2 separate regions of the Homo sapiens genome follow, and region 2 is linked to region 1. The links are contacts of gene promoters, found by promoter capture Hi-C in blood cells and fetal thymus (Javierre and others, 2016). All regions are on one chromosome and are shown on one strand. The core of a region is centred on a gene start or on the middle of the fragment in contact, and the rest is flanking DNA. Distances in the headings are between cores, read along the strand shown. Region 1 holds the start of ETV1 (ETS variant transcription factor 1). Region 2 has its middle 590 kb from the start of ARL4A.

The links. The method cuts DNA at HindIII sites, captures the fragments that hold promoters and counts their contacts. A CHiCAGO score of 5 or more calls a contact.
Region 2: a fragment that was not itself captured here is called in contact with the fragment with the promoter of ETV1 in region 1 in 1 of 17 cell types (megakaryocytes); the score reaches 5.3 in megakaryocytes.

What each region holds. Positions count from the first base shown.
Region 1 is chr7:13,987,100-13,993,567 of GRCh38, forward strand. It overlaps ETV1 (ETS variant transcription factor 1), which reads right to left and starts at 2,567. Exons shown (of 14, transcript NM_004956.5): 1 at 2,464-2,567; 2 at 2,169-2,365; 3 at 1,909-2,040; 4 at 987-1,074. The coding sequence starts at 1,953. RefSeq lists an enhancer at 4,087-4,588. The HindIII fragment of the contact is 3,649 bases long and covers 1,259-4,907 here.
Region 2 is chr7:13,277,422-13,283,889 of GRCh38, forward strand. No RefSeq gene overlaps it. Among named protein-coding and RNA genes, the nearest start is that of ARL4A, 590 kb to the left of the region's middle. The HindIII fragment of the contact is 2,830 bases long and covers 2,280-5,109 here.

The DNA of each region.
Region 1 (6,468 bases), core at 1,317-3,816:
TCTGAATCTTACATAAAATATATAATGGTACATGGTACAACTGTCAAAGTATTATGTTTTCAACTTCAATACCTCGAAACTAAAAGAAACCACTTCAAATACAAGTTTTTAGAGGAAAATTTCTACATTAATAGGTTTATAAAAGTCAGAAAGATAATTCTTTGGCACCAGGTTCTCATCAAGTTCTAAACTATATGGTCATGTTAGGGAGGGAGAGAGGGAGGTATTTAAATGGTATGAAGATTTGAGGAAGTTTCAGAATTCAGTATATCTAATTAAAATTGCCAACTAAACTTTGATAATTAAATCTAAGTATATTAAGTTTATTATGAATGTCCTCATATGGCTAAAATAATTTGTAACATACTGACATCCTAGCAACAGTTCATAAAAAGAATCTGCAAACTAATTTCCCAAATAGTATTATAATTATTAAGGAGGCCTTAAGTATGATTCAGTGAACACATTATGGTCGATAAACAAGGTATTATGACCTCACAATTTAGTCATCAAAATCACCCTTGAAAATTCTGTTAATAGTAGATGGTTTTAGTGTAAAGGAGGTGGGAAACCAAACAATCACTAATACTGTTTAACTTGTAATAAAGGAGAAAGAAAAAAGTAAGCAGTGTACATAGCTGCTGAATTTGTCCCACTGTATTGGATATTTTTAAATTGTTATCTTAGTGAATGGGGTGAGTTATATGCCCCATGGACAAAGGTATTTAAACACAAAACAATGATTAAAAGAAGGTTGTCATTGAGAAGTTTTTATTTCCTTCTTTCATTACTTTGTGATAGGACCATAAAATAGTCTCCCATGCAAACTGCCGCATTATGTAAATCGTTCCAAGTTAAAGTCTTAGTTAGATTCAGTAATTTCAAAGTTTATTATTTTTAAGATAAGACTGAAGTGCTCCTTTTCTTTTAGCAGGGTGGAGAGTGTAGGTAAAAAAATGGGGATTCAGCCCAAAATCAAACCTCACCTTCTGAATCATGAGCCAGATCTCTGTTAATGAATTTTCTTTTCCTGACATTTGTTGGTTTCTCGTTACAATTTCTCCCACGCTGACTCTACAAAGGGAAAGATAAAATCCTTTAAAAGAATGTAAACCTCAGATCACACACACGCACACGCGCGCGCACACACACACACACAGACATGCATACATAAGTCTAATGGATCTTCTCTGAATAGAAAAATAGAAGTCCATAGTATCAACTCTAATATTCATTTTCTCACTTATTTGACAGTGAAAGCTTATGTTAAGCAGGCAGGGAGAGTTGCTTCCCAGTGCCGATCTTAGCACATTACTATTTATCAATCATATATTCATGGTATCTCAGCATCAAAACAACCTGAAGCATTTACACTTAAAGTTGTTTTTAGGCTGGTTCAATGCTAGATTAAAACAGTGGGTTTTATTCTCTCTTGGACAGCCCCTCCTCCCCACCCCACCCCCACAAAAAAAAAAAGCAAAAAGAGTAGAGAAATGAAAAAAAAAAAAAAGAGAAAATGAGAAAAAAAAAAGAAACAAAAACACCCCATATAAACAAAAAGTGTCAGCATTTGTCTCAACTTCATTCTTTTCAATGTGGCAGACAAACCCAGCCAAAAACTTTGAGTGCAGCAGCTGCTGCTGCCCTCCATCTCCTCTTCCACTCATGTTGGGCACTTTAATCAGAAAAAGGGGTCTTAAAAACAAAACTATGCCTTATCCAAATCACTGAAAGGTAAGCTCATTTTGAAGACTGGGCTTCTAGAAGCAGAGTCGCCCTACAGTGGCAACAAAGCAGATAAGTATCTGCAATCCCAACCCCCGTGCCCCCTCCCTTCTCATTTTCTCCCTCTCCCCACCCCCGACGGAGTCAAGTTTATAAACAGCAACTTTCAAACTGATCACTCACATTGGTGACCATGTAAGGCACTTGCTGGTCATAAAATCCATCCATGCTGCTGCTCTTCGCAAATCTCAGCTCAGTATTTTATATTTTGAGCATTTAGCTGGAGATTTCCTCAGGATCTGGACTTCTATCAACCTAGAGGGGAACAAGATGGCTTTTAGGCTTAAAAAAAAATCATGAATGAAGCTCTTGAATTTGCATAGCTAATTACCCTCCGACAGTCCCATTCACAAAAATAACCCTCCCTACACCGCCTCCTTCACCTGGATCCAAAGAGAGCCAACAGAGTTCACAATTTACATATTTTCGGTAGTAGCAAAAATCCGAACAAGAGGCGATGTATTTATTTACACTCTCGATGTTTCCCTGCGCGGTCGGTGTACCCCGGGCAGCTCTGATTCGCAAACGTGTGCAAAACTAGCAATGGCGATCAACGAGACTTGCTTTGCACCTAACGGGACTAAAGAGACGGAGACACCTCTTTCATCAGGATAGTTTTTGCGACCCACAACCATGCAATTATCTGGAGAGACATAAAAAGTTGTTGGAAAGACCCACCTGAAGGCCACGCTAGGCGAAAGGCTGCAAAAACTTCCCTCCAAATTTAATAAAAACATTAATTATAGCCCAGCACTTCCCCCTTGGAAGCCGAAAGCGCCTCTGACAGAGCTCAATTCGGTGGTTTTTCCTCTACTTCTCCTCCAGGGGCCTCCAATCCAAACTGATGGATCGCTGCCTCCCATTGGCTCCGCGTCTCTTTCACAAGATCAGATTTCGGGCTGTCAATCAGGCGGCTTGCTGCCCCTTCCCGCGGGTCTCCCTCGCCCCTCTGCCCTAGGGGGTGCTCGGCCGGTAGGCGCTGGGTCCTCAGCCTGGAAGCGCCACGGAGAGACTCGATTTCCTCTGTAACCCGCTGCTTATTGTTAAGGCGCCTGGGGATACTGAAACCGTGTGTTTCGAGTCGCCAGTTCCCATTATTGGGGTGTTAGGTCCACTATTGGGCTGGTTTCCTTAAAGTACTGTTGTGCGGTTCTGGTATACCCTTAGAGCCGCGATCCACAAAGCCCGTACCGCCTTATTCAGCTGCCCTCCCCTCAGGATCTCCAACCTCTCTACTCTTGCCCTGACTAGGAGCTCACCTCGCTCTCTATCCTCATTCCCACTCAGCTTTTGGCCCAATTTATTTTCCCGTTTTTCAAAACCCACCATCACCATTATGGTTTATCGAAACATTTTTTAAACAGTCATCCTCAACTAAAATTAGATCCTATCGTTCGTGGGACAGAAACATAAAGAATCTATAAGGAAGGCACCTAGGAGATGCAGAATTGCTGATTAGCAGAGGTTGTGATGGGAGGACAACAGAGCAAGCTAGGTGAAAAAGTATAAGTCAAAATGGTCCCTACGTGTGCACTGGGAAAAGGTACTTCCAGTCCACTGTGGCTGTGGGGAGGAGGAGGGAGTGCTTGGGGTTGCTCGTATATCCTAGAACCCGCACGTTTCCTGAGCTTTTGTTATGTATACACGGAGGCGGAGGGTGTCACTTACTGTACTTGACGCTTTCACTTCCTCTCCAGCTTTTAAACAGCCAGAGCCCAGGGTTGGGGGCGAGCGGTGAGATGGCTCGGGTTTCAAGGACAATAACTAGGACGTTAAGCAGTGAGGGCTGCATCTCTGAAGCCACTTGCCCTGATCCTCCTATGGGACTCAGAACAGTAAAGCGTCACTTTAAGGAGCCAGTGTCCAACAGCGGACGGGAGGCCGCGGGGATAGGACCAGGGACTCAATGCTGTTGAAATTCATTTGTGACCAGAACTAGTGACCAAAAGACGTTTCCGGCAGCTGTTCCGCCCGTTAGGAAACGTGCTGCAGTTCTCAATTTCTATTTGAAAGTTTCCTTCCTTAAATAGAACGTTATGGAGACACATTAAAATGGAGTGTAAGAGCGCACAGCACTCAACCCCGGACCTGGGCAGGAGAAAGATCTACTTAAAAAAGAAGCAAACAAACAAACAATCAACACTTATTACTGGGAAAACAACCAATAACTATGGACAGCAAAGACAGACCCCGCGCATTCCCGGAAACTACTAAATCGGAGTTCACAACGCGCGCACCTATAAGCATTTTGAGCGGGAACTGCATTTTAACCCCGGCCAAGGAGAGATTCCAGGAAGCGCCTGGGCCCCGAGGCTGAACAGTGAAGCTCATGGGTACTATCTGAGGGTGCAACCAAGCAGGGGGTCAATAACAAGGGTCCTCCACCACCCTGCACTCCTGGAATAACCCAGCGCCTGTAATCTGAGCAACAGTTTCCAAAGACCTTCTCTGCAGCCCGAGCCTGACGGGTATCCAGGGTAACCGCGAGGGGGCGGAGCTTCGGGTTAGGTCCCGGCGAGGTTCTTCCCGCAGCCAATAACGAGCCGTAAATCCCCAGCCCATTGTTGTTTATTGCTGACCCCTCAGCGCTCCGCTAGGAGATTGGCCGCTTTAGGGAAGGGGGCGGAGTCCCGCCCGCCCCAACAGCCACCTTTCGTCTCCATTCACAAAATTCCGGCCCTTCTTGGTCACGTGGTTGGGGGCGTGGAGGGGTAGAGGAAATGACACAACAAAGGCCCAAGTATCCCAAACCACAAAACTTTTTTCAGCTCGCTGCCTCCTCTTTGTCCTGTCCCTGAAACAGATACTAGATGAGGAAAAAGAGGTTGGGGTCTGGGAGTAATAACAAGAGAGAAAAAAATTAAGACCGAAATTAAAGGAAGGCTCACGTGGGGATAATTCCGGCGTGCACTGCTTAGACAGCTTTTGCACTAGAGGAAAGAAAGAATTGAGAGTGGGGAGAAAGTCTTAAGGACTGGGAACTTTTGCTTGCTGCTTCAAGTCATTGCTTTTAAAGGTGCAAACTGTTCGACTGTAGATGGATTTCAGTTTTTTCACTTAACATTCTGTAATTTTCATTTCTACCTTTTTTTGTATCCCACAGTGTCTTGTTAGTTTTTTAAAGCTTTTATGTATTATTAGTATTATATATTTTTAGGAATATTGATGGTTTTCGCTGGCTGATAGCTTTAGTTTCCATTTCCAAAGACTTATCACTCCTTCCCAGGCCCCCATAAGCTCTGCGCCCCTTCTCCCTCCCTTTAGTGGACTGGCACTCTCAGGCGCTGCGCTGTTAAGCCTCAGATTTTACTACGTATTGCGGTGGCTTCATATTTTCCCTTTTGAGTTCTTTAAACGAACTCATATCTTTTAACTCTTTGATCTTCATAGTAACTGAAAATGATGTTCTCGTGTGAATAAGCAGCTAGTCTCGCTACAGCTCGGTTTTGTTGAAACAGCCTAAAATTTTGAGATAAATGTGTCCCTCTTGACTGTGAACGATTGAACCACCCTCTTTTCTTTCTCCCACTTTCTCTTCTGTCCTTTCTCTGCATTGATACTTACTGAAACACTATCTCTTCTGTCCTTTCTATGCCTTGATACTCAGACACTAGCTTCTAGTTTGGCAGTTGTTTATCTTCTCTGCTTGGCACTGGGAAAAACCAATAGACCCACTTGCTGAAGACAGTGGAAGGGCTGAAAATTTGTTTTTCAGAAAATGTAAGATCTTGGAAAATATCTGCAAAGGCAGCTGTTCTGTCTACAAGACAGGAACATAAAAAGCTGGACAAAGTTTCCACTACTTTTTGAGAATGTCTTTAAAACATCAGTTTAGTAAATGCCAGCCCTTTTGAACGGAAAATTTCATTTTGGCAGGATTTCAGGCATAGAATGGCAGAGCAGAGGCCAAGAGGCTTTGACATTTATTTGCTTGTATTTTGAAATCCCATTTGGATTTTGAAATAAGAGTTCTTGAGAGAAAGCTACCCCCCTCCAAAAAAAAGTCCATTTTTGAGTTTGGAAAGTTTTTAGGTTGCATGTAAAACTATTTAAATTTTTATATTTCCCTTGCTGTTATTTAATAAAGTAAAATAATATTCATTAGTGACTTCTCTACAGTTAACTTACTATGGCATTATGAAGAAATTGCACGTTGTTAAAGAAAGTGAATTTCTAAAAGCAGTTACAGAAAGGCAACAAGCTAAAATGGCGCTGCTTGTTTTAAATGGTTGCTATAATTAAAATCAAATGAAGTTTGCTCAAAATTGAGTAGAGTATTAAGTAAAACAGTAACTTTTAAAATTTGTTGTATTAAAACAGTATGTAAGGCAAATTGTTAAAGATCTAGTTTGCACAGTTACATCAAATAGATAAGAAAAAGATATAAAATTAAACAGCAAAATTGGCCAAGAAAATGAACAAGTGAAAATAATTCCAAAGGAGAACATAGAGTCCTCACAGGAGGGTGAAAGATAATCAGTGGCTTCAGGAACACTGTATGTGAGGAGTAGCAGAAATTTGAGAGGAGGGTGGAGCCTGGGAAGAAGGTAAGGGTATCAAGGAAACTGATACTATGTAGCTGTATACTCTCTCACTCTCAATACTGCCATTTTCAGCTGGTGACTATCTGTAAACTCCCTCAAGTAGAGGAATTGCAAACAACTTATAAATGTGGAAAAAAAA
Region 2 (6,468 bases), core at 2,445-4,944, 710 kb before region 1:
CCCAGTTTTACTCGTACATGAGTGTGTGTGTGTAGGAGTGGAGGTTATACAAGTGGTCTTCAAAAAGTTCATGGAAAATGTGTATTATGAAAAAAACTATGAATGGATTTGCACCAAAATAAACTTGTAGTAACTTATTATCACATTTCTGAGCAGGATCTAGTTTAAGGCATTACGTAGGATAACACGTCAGTTTGAAAAGAGTCCCTGTCACAGCAACATGGATTTGTTAATATTGGAGCAAAAACAAACATTAAATTTATGGTGAGTCTTGGGTAGAAGAATGGTGAAATCATTGATACTTTACAAAAAGTTTATGGGAACAATGCCTCAAAGAAATCAGTAGTTTACAAATTCATTTTTTAAAATGACAATATAATGTTGAAGATAAAGTTCATAGAGGCAGATCATCCGCATCAATTTGTGAGGAAAAAATTCATCTTGTTTGTACTCTAATGGAAGGAGCCTGACCACAGCACAAACAATAGCCACCACCATAGACATCTCAACTGGTTCACTTTACACAATTATGATTGAAAAATTAAAGTTGAGCAAACTTTCCACTTCGTAAGTGCAAAAGCTGTTGTGTCCAGATGAGCTGCAGACAAGCAGAGTTTTCAACTGAAATTTTAATCAAGTAGAATCAAGATTCTAAAACATGTCTTTGTAGTGTTGTAACAGGAGATAAAATATGGCCTTACCAATACTGTTCTGAAGACAAAGCACAAGATTTGACTCAGAGGTCAGAGCAAAAGCAGACCAGTCAAGAGCAAAAGTCACGGAAATGGCCTTTTGGGATGCTCCAGGCATTTTGCTTGTTGACTTTCTGGGCGGCCAGTGAAGGATAACATCTCCTTGTTAGTGTTCTGAGAACATTAGCCAAAGCTTTAGTGGAAAAACACCCAGGAAAGCTTCACCAGAGAGTCTTTCTTCACCATAGCGGTGCTCCTGCTCAGTCCTATGATGAAATTTTGTGAGAGTTTTCATAGAAAAGCATTAGATATTCATCTCACAGTCCTGATTTGGCTCTGTCTGACTTGTGTTTGTTTGTAATCTTAAAAAATATTTAAAGGTCACCCATTTCTCTTCAGTTAATAATGCAAAAAAGAGCGCATTGACATGGTTAAATTCCCAGGACCCTCAGCTCTTTATAGGGATCGACTAAATGGCTGGTGTCATCACTTTCAAAAGTGTCTTGAACTTGATAGAACTTACATTGAGAAATAAAGTTTATATTTTATGTTTTAGTTTTTTAATTTTTTCAATGAGCTTTTTGGAGTTCGCTCGTATTACATTTCATGCCGTTTTATCACATGTGTAGGTTAGTGCATTCACCATAGTCAAGGTACAGAACAGTTCCATCACCACAAGGATCCCTTAGGTTGCCCTTTCATAGCCACACCCATGTTCTTTCCGCAACACCCCCACCACCCCCAAGTGCTGACCACCACTAATCTGTCACTTATCCTAGTCTATAAATTTGGCTTCCCAAAATATTATTTAAATAGAAGCCTACAGCTTATAATCTTTCAGATCAGCTTCTTTTCACTGAGTGCATTTCTCTGAGGATGTATCCAAGTTGTTACATGTGTAAATAGTTCATTTTTTCATTTCTTTGTGTTTCATGGTATGGATGTATCATAGTTTGTATAACCATTCCTCTGTTGAGATGTTTCCATTTGGGGATATCATGAATAAATTTATATACAGGTTTTTACATGAACATGCATTTATATTATTGTGGAATAAATATCCAAGAGTGCAAATGCTGACTTTTATGTTTACATATTTAGATTTATAAGCAATTGCCAAACTGTTTTCCAAAATGGCTGTACCATTTTACATTCCCACCAGCAATGTATGAGTGATCTAGTTTCTCTACATCCTCACTAAGATTTGTGTTGTCACTACTTTTTTTATTTTAACCATTCTAATAAAAGCATATGCTATCTTATTGTGGTTTTAATCTGTATTTCCTTAATGGAAAATAATATTGAATATCTTCCTATGTACTTATTTTCCATTTCCATATTCTCATCAGTGAAGTGGCTGTTCATATCTTTTGCTCATTTTCTATTAAATTATTTGTTTTTTTACTTGAGTTTTCATATTTTTTAAATGCTACTCCTTTCTCCAGTATGTGTTTTGAAACTATTTTCTCTCAGTCTGTAGGTAGCTTTTTTTTCATCCTCTTAACGAATGAAACATCCTCTGTCTTTCACAGAGCAAAGGTTTCTAATTACAAGGTTTAACGTTTCAGTTTTTCCTTTTATGGATCAAGCTTTTGGTGTCATCTAAGAATTTTTGCTTATCCCTAAATCTCTAAAATTATGTCCCATTTTTTCCTACAACTTTTAGTGTTTGTGTTTTAATCTATTTTTTTCAGGGGCTTTTTTGTTGTTGTTTAATTTGTGAGGTATAGGCTAATATTCTTTTTGTTTGCCAATGGAATATAATCTATCCAACATCATTTGTTGATAAGATTATCTTTTCTCTACTGAATTGTTTTTGTACCTTTTAAAAAACTGCACAAGTAAATATGTTTGGCTAATTTGAAATGTCTTAAAATAGAAACGGTTACTTTCAATCTTTTAATTCATATTTCTCATCTATAACCACTAGATGGCGAGATTGGCTTTTATAAGTTTATAAATTATTAGCAACAGGTCCCTGAAATTTTTGATATGGCCTTAGTGAAATTTTATACTCAGAGCTTTAATGTATTATAGTTGTTAAAAAAGTAATTTTACAAAAAGAGCTCTAAATATTTAAGGAGAAGTACAATATTAGTTTATTTTAGAATGTTAGAACCCTCATTCAGTTTTAATAGTGAACTTAGAAAATGAGACAGAAATTAGGCAAATGTTAAGCACTAAGGTAGTGTACATGTGAGTCCTCATGCGTCATTTTTCAAGAACTGTATATTTTTCTAATTCACAGAAAAAATATAAAATTCCTTGATGAATCTTTTAATAAGTTGTCTTTTTTTTTACATTTTTTTCATGTGTATGTCCATACTTACATATTATAGGCCTTGATTTCCAAAAAAAAAAAAAAAAAAAAAAAAAAAGCCCTTTCAATTAGAAAGATGTTTATTGACTTTGAAGACAAAGATATGAAGAACAAAGATTTGTCAAAGTGAGAAGAAATCTGTTGGGAAACATTTGTATTTTGCGATAGCTCTGTGAGATGTCTGTAATTTTTTACTGAAATATTTGAATCCATTTCATTAGTGTTAATTATTATTAGATATACTTATGTTAGTAAAATGAATACATGCATTGGATTGTGCTTCCAGTTTGTCATTTACCTAAAAGAAGTGTGGGAGTGCTCATTACCTGATGACATTGAGTAGTATAGCGAGCAAAACCTGGTTAAAATAGAAAAAAAAAAATCCATGTGTTTCTTTAATAGTCCTTCTCACTGTTCTATATGTCTGCTAATTATTAAATATCATTTTTACATTTTTTCTTGAGGAAACTACTTATTTAACATGGAAACTTATCTAATGAGGTATTGAGAGAAAGAGGGAGAGAGAGGTGTTCTGATGCATTTTTCACATACTCTAGAAATATATAAGCTATACTACATATCTACAGAAGTATAATTATAGTTTTATAGTTATAAATATAACAATTATTTTTTTAATTGCCAGATTTTAGGCTATGTGGAAAAAAAATTATTTAATTGCTGAAGCTATATTTAATTTTCTCATCATTTAACTTTTAGAGACATCAGTTTATTAAGTCAGCAATTGCTATAAAGCACTTTCTTCACTCAGCTTCATGAATACCATTTTATCATTAAGTCTTTAAAAGATCAATGTATAACCATGTGGCATGATGGAAAATCTGGGCTTAAGACAGGTTCAAGACCTAGGTCTTTCATTTTAACTTACTATGTAATTAACCTTACGTTTTAAAAAATTCTGTTATGTACCAGGCACTATAATAAACTCTTGAGATAGATAGATAGATGATAGATTGCCAGCTACATGTCCCAAGTGTTTATAATAGCTATCGATTTATCTATCATCTGTCTATCAATCATCTGTCTGTCTGTCTGTCTGTCTGTCTGTCTGTGTCTTGCTTCATCTTAATAATGACCCTACACTTCAGGTAATAGTACTCACATTTTATGGAACAGAAACCATGGCTCTGCAGGTTTAAGTCACTGGCCTGGGATAACAGAGCTGGCCAGTGGCAGATGGAGTATTTGAACACATCTTATTCTGAAGCCTACTTTACCTCAACTTCATCCTTTTACTACTCTGGGCTAGCTCCATCTATGTCATCTGTAAAATGGGCAAATACAAGAACATGAATCCTAACATACTTCTGATTCTAAAATATTCCTCTCTGGTGTTGTGAGGGAAGATTTTCAGCTCTTTCGGAGTTGACTTAGTTCCCCAAGGCATTCGTTTTACCAAAGCAGCACTCACCAAGGTCAAGGAAAACCTTTGAAATTTCCAGTTAAAAAAATAGACATGCATATATGTATAAAATATCCTCTTATGATCTTTGATAGTATTTAGTATTTTTACTGATTAAAGTTTTTTTTTCTTTTTCTGGGATAAGAACTACTCCAAGAACATGACAACTAGCAGAAAATGAGAGCTGAAGTAGTGTGATGAAATGGAAAGGAACATTTCATTAGTAACTGTAGAGAAAGGAAAAATGAGCTGTTCTTGCTCATAATGTGGATCCAGTAGAAAGTACCAGACCCAATAAACAAATAATTGATTAGAAATATAGCCAAGAACATAGATTCCAAGAGATACCTTTTATAATCCAGGATTCTGTTACCTGATTTGGTTCCATAATAAAAACAAGCACTTACTAACAATTATACATGACATTTATGTTATTTTATACTCTGCAGAAATCTACTTACTGTATTCTTTCTCAGTCTTATTTCAAGCAATTAAAAAATTGTTTGTCTTGTCATGTTGAAGGTCTCAGTTAATGTAAAGTTAATAAAACCGAATCCTTGTCCTGTCCCCTATAATAGTGTAGAAGGCAAGAATAAAAACTCAATTGTCATATATATGTGATTTGTTTATTCTTATAAAGATATATAAATATATAGTGAATTAGTAATAATGAGATAAGCTTGTCCTCTGAGCTTTCCAGCCACTAGATGGAGAACATGCTTTGTGAAATAGTATATGAGAATGAGGAAATCAAGCCAACTTAACTTTGCTGTCTGGGCAAAATTTGTTAATTTGGGTCATATATTAGACTTTTCTGTTTTAGTGGTCAATGTGGTTCAATTTTAAGTTAGGGCATAATTTGCACAATAACTAAAGTTGAAATTAATACTCAGAAACAAACCATACTCTATTTAGAACTAAAATCCATTAAGTTGTCTGAATTACAGGAAGAAGCTGACCAATGAAGATAAAGCCAATTTGTTACATTGGAACAGCTGAACTGGTGAAAAAATTAATATAGCATCCAGCAATCAAAGGATAGGATTAAACTCCAATGAAGTCACTTTGTTTCGTTTTTAACTCTTAAGAAGATCGTTAGCCAAACTGTTTCAAATGGCACCTGGGTTAACACTATCATGAAAATTTTTTTGATCTAGCAAACTTGAAATAATGGCTTCACATTTCTTAATTTCCAGCTTTTAAGCAAATTATTCTGGACTTTGACATCAGTGATCTATGTGGATAGTAACATAGCTATTTTAAATATGCTTGCTCATCCCTCGACTAGTCAAAATTAGGCAGGAAAATGTTATGCTACGGCAGGCAGCCTTATGATGACTGAAATTATAGAAATTACATAAAATTATGTCAACAAATGGCAATAACTTGATATATCAAAATATAGATAACTCTTTTAAGATGTAATTCTGGCCCTCTTAGTCAAGCGTTTATCTTGAGGGGCCATATTGGCAACTAATTTATACAGGACAAAAGTAAAAGAAGAATCTCTATGAATAGATGGGCAGTGATTGAGTTTAGGTGCCAAGGACAATGCTGAATTTTGGGGCAGTTTTTCCAGTGTTATTGTCCAAGAATGGGAAAGTAACTTTTGCCAAGAAAATTCAATGTTCTACAAGCATAACACCATATGTATATGGCAGAGTCGAGTTGATTGCCATGATTATCTCTCTAGTAAATACCATCAATAGCCTCTACATTAAAAATAAAATTGGAATGTTGAAGAACACAAGTACAAAAATAAAGCCTTAATAAACTAAATTACATTAAAATGATGTTTTATTATTTTATGTTGATTTTATATTATTGCTCAGGAAAATGGACACTCTGCATTTGCCAAGTGGAATAACACATACAAAAGCCCAAGTATATGAGGGTAAATGTTTTCCAAATGTCAAAGTTCTGTAAGAGGATAGCATTTAGTATTTTCTTGTGTTGTTAGACTAGAGAACGATTTCACAATTAGCAGTTTGTCAGAATCATCTGGAATTTTTTTTTACATTTTTATTTTCTTTTAA